Linked DNA regions of Homo sapiens: region 1 is linked to region 2. Evidence: promoter capture Hi-C in 16 types of primary human blood cells and fetal thymus (Javierre and others, 2016). All regions are on one chromosome and are shown on one strand. The core of a region is centred on a gene start or on the middle of the fragment in contact, and the rest is flanking DNA. Distances in the headings are between cores, read along the strand shown.

Region 1 (2,700 bases), core at 45-2,544, 670 kb before region 2:
TTCCCAGGATGTTCAAGTGTAGCCGCAGAAGATATCAACAGGGTCTCCGAGGTCGAACTGCCAGCAGTGCAGCCATCAATCCTGCCACCAGGGCCATGGGTATCAACAACACCCACACTGACACCACCATAGTGTGGATCTTCCCACCTCAAGGTTAGCCAGGGGGCCTGTGAGCCAGGGTGGGGTTTTAAAAAACAGAGCCACTAGGCTGGGTGCGGTGGCTCATGCCTGTAATCCCGGCACTTTGGGAGGCCAAGGCGGGCAGATCACAAGGTCAGGAGATCGAGACCATCCTGGCTAACACGGTGAAATCCCATCTCTACTAAAAATACAAAAAAAAATTAGCCGGGCGTGGTGGCACACGCCTTTAGTCCCAGCTACTTGGGAGGCTGAGGCAGGAGAATTGCTTGAACCCGGGAGGCAGAGGTTGCAGTGAGCCAAGATCGCGCCACTGCACTCCAGCCTGGGTGACAGAGCTAGACTCTGTCTCAAGAAAAAAAAAAAAAAACCAGAGCCAGTGAAGATTTCCCTACCTGGTTCTGTTTAGGCACGCCAAAGGATGATCTCTGTGAAATAGCACCCCTACATATATGGGGGACTCCTGATGGCAGGCACCCCAAAGTGCTGACAGCCTTAATGGAGGATGGATTGGCTGGAAGCAGAGGGTTTGGGGAGGGGCTGAATCCAAGAGGCAGGGAACTTCCAGAACTGCTTCCTTCCTCAAACTCTTCCCTCTCCTTCCTCTCCTCAGTTCTCAGACATCTCAGGCAACCTGGGATTTTTCTGATCCTCTAGAAGTGCCCAGAAGCTAGCCCAGAAGCTTGGTTTGCCCTGGACCTGCATCTCCTAGGGGCCGTGTGGGTGGTGAACAACAAATACAGTCATTCTGCTCAAACTGCCTTATTCCACACAGAGGTGTTAACCAGCTGACTATGCAGGGCGTGAGGGGAGGGTTATGGCTGAATACTTACAGGGAAAGGCTTCAGTGACCGCAGCAGGGATCATAGTTTAAGACAGCAGGAGGACAGGACAAGGTCAGCAACATAGACCATCTTTGGTCTCAGCTCTTGATCTGCCCCATGAAGTAGGGGCTCTCTTGCCTTACACTCCTAACTGCACAGGGAGAAGGGTCTCTGTAAACATCTTGGAAGGTATTGGGAGGCACAGATCAGAGAGGGATAGGATGAAAGACTGAACCCTGAGAGTACACAAGTATGAGGTGGATGTGAGGTGGATGTGCCTCTGTGTGCCTGTGATGGTCAGCGTGTAGGTGTAGCTGCTGGTGTGTGTGTCTGAGGCCGGGAGAATAGGAGTATCAGTAGATGTGGCTGAATGTGCCTTTGTGATTTAATGTGCCTCTGTGACTGACTGTGAGTGTCAAGGAGCGTTTGTGAGGGTATGGGTGTGCCGGAGAGGACATCAGCCCTGGTAAGAAAAGTGAAGGTCAGGAGGGGGATGGGGAACAGCCTAAAGGAGGAGAACATGGAGAAGGGTGAGATTCTGAGAAAGGCATACTACCTTCGGCCCTTCAACCATTCTCTGAGGTCAGTGTTTTCCAGAACTGGCAGCTGAGCTGGGGTGCTTAGGGGTGGGGCAAGACTGAGTTTGAGCCCAGAAAGTAGGGAGGGTGCTAAGCTCTCTGGCCTGGGGATTTTCCATTTGGATTTCTGAGTGTGTGCTCATGTGTCACTGGCTGTAACCGGGTTTCTGTGGGGTTGTGTCTTAGTCGCTGGGAACATTTTGTAGGACTCTGTCTCGAATATGTTGCATCATGCATGGGCTAATACGTGTTGCACCGGTCCGAGATCTGGCTGCATTTCCAGGCTACCTTCCCAAGGGGCTAGGGAAGGGAGTGAACCCTGAGACCTTTGGTGGCCTGGCCCCCTGGGGTTCAGGAAGTGTGGCTAATGTCCTTTGCTGCCTGTGAAGGGAAAGTGAATTGTGCTTATGTCTATCTACCCCAACTCTTGCCAGAGACTGGGACCCTGAGGGGGGTTGAGGCAGAGAATTCACTGACACACCATGCCCAGACGGTGCTGGGCTCCTCAGGTTATGGGATGGGGGTTGCTGAACATCAGTCAAAGCTAGAAGGTGCTTGGGCCATGCTCAAGGGCCCAAGAGGGGCCATACATATAAAGATACATGACACAGTTCACAAACACATGCAGACATGTAAATATAAGTGAACTCATAGACACATACTGCAACAACCACACACATGCATGCAAGCACATACTATAAGCAGATATACGCAGACACAAATGCATAGATCCCCACACGATATATGTAACAACACATACGCATGCCTCTAAATGAACACAGACAGAAACATGCATGCACCCAGACACAAGCACACAAGCACCCAGATGCAGACACATGCCTTCACACTCATGCAAACCCAGGCACACACAGACATACACGCATGCAGACACACTCACCAGACTTCCCTGCCCCTGCGGCCCTGGGACCCAGAAGCCTCCCTCCCCTATATGAGTGTGTAGTATGTGTGTGTGCATGCACTCATGCCCACACTTGTGTCTGTGTGTATCTGTGTCTGTGAGAGTGTGTGTTTGTGCTCGAGTGTGTGTATGATGGGGGTGCTAAGCTGTGGGAACCAGATGACATCATCTCTTCCAGCTATTTTTAGCTGTATCTGCGATGATGGCTTCTTCACTGCCCCTCCCCCTTCAGGTTCCTAAT
Region 2 (2,700 bases), core at 95-2,594:
CCCAGTGTCATAATATTAGCTTCCAGCACATCAGGCATCAAGCCCTTTTACTTGGTAACACCACACCACTATCTCCACACCTTTACTCAAGCTTTTTCTGATATTTGGGATGTACATAACCCTCCTTCCTTCCAATCTATCTTTTCATATATAGCTCAATTCCATTTTTTCTGGCAAGACCAGTCTCAAGCTAGACCCAACCTACTTCTCCCTCTATATCCTCTCCCAGGACTGCTGTGAGCCACTCAGCAGAAGGAATGGGAAGTGGGTAGTCTCTTAAGCATCAGGCAAAGGGCTCAAGCTGAGCTGATTTAGCTTTGTAACTTAACTGCTCAGTGCACAGGGCACTGATGTGGGGAAATGTAACCGTGTAAATGGGGGTCGGGGTGCGGTGCTGAGACTGCTGTGCCAGGCAAGTGTACAAAGTTTCATTACCCAGCCCAGCACTGATGACTGGAAATATCATGAATTATCCTTCTGTTGGTAGAGGGAACAAACCAGCCAATTGTTTGCCTGTTCATCACCAGGAATGCCCTTCCTTCCTCAGCTGACCTAAATGATAGCTATGCAAACCTTCTAGGCTTTGCCCTCTCCTAAATCCTTTAGGAAGTTCCAAGGTGACTTTGCCTCACAGGTCCCTTTCTTCTTGTAAATTATATAGGTGACAATCTGAGCCACACACGCTACAGGTCATATGGTGTCTCCCGTTAACGAATCCGGCATTATATGGTGGCAAAAGGTTAAACATGCGACAACTTTTTTTTTTTTTTTTTTTTTTGACACGGAGTTTCGCTCTTTGTTGCTCAGGCTGGACTGCAATGGCGCAATCTCGGCTCACTGCAACCTCCGTCTCATGGGTTCAAGCAATTGTCCTGCCTCAGCCTCCCGAGTAGCTGGGATTACAGGCATGCACCACCACGCCCGGCTAATTTTATATTTTTAGTAGAGATGGGGTTTCACCATGTTGGCCAGGCTGGTCTCGAACTCCTCACCTCAGGTGATCCGCCCGCCTCGGCCTCCCAAAGTGCTGGGATTACAGGCGTGAGCCACCATGCCCGGCCTCGACCACTACCTTTTTAACCCAAGCCCCCACTGAAACTCTGTCCCTGTTGTCACATGGACACTGGGCTGCAGGAACCCAGGAGGATCAGAGGCTCCCGAGGCCTCACGCCAGTTGCAACGAAGCCAATCATATATTTCGCCCTAGAACAGCAGGAGGGATAAACTAACCTGGAAGGGGTAAACCTCGAAGCCAAAAGGACATAGCGTGTCCTCGATCTTCTGCTTCAGCTCTGCGACTTTCGGCTCCATAGCGCACGTTACACGCTGAGCTTGCTGGGGAATGAAGTCTCAAGGACAATTGGGCCGTTACGTTTTGAGTCAGCTTCGACTCCATTTCCCAGGTAGGAAATGGGTCCAGTAGCGGGACCATATTGCCTATGCGCGATGCATCTTGGGATGCGTAGTTCGTTTCCTCCTTGGAGACAGCCACACGAAATCAGGAAGACTCAGTTTCCCGGCAAGCTACACGGTGGGGGTGTGCATGTACGTGTCTCTTCTAGAGAAAGGTAGTTCCACCGCCTCCATCGCCGGTTGTGTTCGCAAGAGGCGACCTCAGTTTCCCAGGTGGCGCTGCGGCAGCCAGTCCAAAGTCGGACTTTCAAAACCAACCCGAAGTTTTGAACCCGGCGGCGGCAGTTGTCACTGGCACAGGTTTGGCGTGGTGGCGCCAGTGTACTACTTCTGGGGAGGTCTCAACCAGGTTCTGGCACCTTCAATCCCCACCTGATATCTGCGTATCATCACGGTATCCCGCTTTTCCCCCAGTTCCCCAAGAGCGTCCTTCCTTTCCCTAGTCACAGGATCGCAGTTTTGGTCTGATAGTGCATCCACCTACCCCAGTGTTGCATCCCCACTTCCCTCTTTCCATCTAACGTGGTGGCCTTTCCTGGGGATACCTTGGGTATCCCCCGCTAGGAGAGCAAGCACAAGACACCAGGGAGCCAGACCCCTGCCGCTCCCCTGCCACAGGATATGAATACGAGCCTCAGCTGGTTTGAGCAGCTGGATGTGCTTCTCAACGCTACTGATGGAAATGTGGTCCGGAATAAGGTGAGGGGTTGGTGGAGGTCCCCAGTTTGCGTGGGGAGGCTAAGGGACTCTCAGAGTTCATTGGCCTGTGCATCTGTTTCTTTTGTAGCAGTGGCTGTATCCTCTTGGGGTCTCCACAGAGCTCATTGGCCTGTGCATCTGTTTCTTCTGTAGCAGTGGCTGTATCTTCTTGGGGTCTCCACCGCAGGTAAGTAATGTCTCTTTCTACTTCCAAGCCCTTTCTCTTTCTGTGCCTTCCTCCAGTGCCCGTATCATCCATTATTCCTTCCAAATTCCAACTCTGTCCTTTCCTGAACTCTGTTTCCCCACACAGACCCTGCACTTAACCCTTCCTTATTTCCTCAGCCGGGGACCTGGCTGGGACCTGGATTTCCTCTCATCACTTGCCTCTGCAGTCAGGAGTCCAAGCTCAACAGCCTTGGGCTTTAGAGACTCCCATAGTTCCACAAAGGCTGAGCTGCCCTGAGTCCTAGAGCCCATCCTCTCTCTGGGGTGAGGTTGCTATTCTCTGATCCTAATTTCAATGTCAGGCTCAGGTGAGGCTTGGAATCCTTGGTGTGTATATGTGATGTTTGTGTAAGATGAGGA

What was found. The method cuts DNA at HindIII sites, captures the fragments that hold promoters and counts their contacts. A CHiCAGO score of 5 or more calls a contact.
Region 1: a contact is called between the fragment with the promoter of TSPAN1 here and the fragment with the promoter of MMACHC in region 2, in 1 of 17 cell types (fetal thymus). The highest score is 6.6, in fetal thymus.

Annotation. Positions count from the first base shown.
Region 1 is chr1:46,173,681-46,176,380 of GRCh38, reverse strand. It overlaps TSPAN1 (tetraspanin 1), which reads right to left and starts at 1,294. Exons shown (of 9, transcript NM_005727.4): 1 at 972-1,294. It overlaps P3R3URF-PIK3R3 (P3R3URF-PIK3R3 readthrough), which reads left to right. Exons shown (of 10, transcript NM_001303427.2): 1 at 1-153. P3R3URF (PIK3R3 upstream open reading frame) reads left to right here. Exons shown (of 2, transcript NM_001328655.2): 1 at 1-153; 2 at 752-895. The coding sequence ends at 795. It also overlaps a transcript of PIK3R3 not described here. The HindIII fragment of the contact is 4,826 bases long and covers 823-2,700 here.
Region 2 is chr1:45,498,944-45,501,643 of GRCh38, reverse strand. It overlaps MMACHC (metabolism of cobalamin associated C), which reads right to left and starts at 1,344. Exons shown (of 4, transcript NM_015506.3): 1 at 1,231-1,344. The coding sequence starts at 1,311. It overlaps CCDC163 (CCDC163 homolog), which reads left to right and starts at 1,571. Exons shown (of 5, transcript NM_001102601.3): 1 at 1,571-2,112; 2 at 2,201-2,299. The coding sequence starts at 2,035. RefSeq lists enhancers at 1,350-1,549, 1,099-1,631. The HindIII fragment of the contact is 9,755 bases long and covers 94-2,700 here.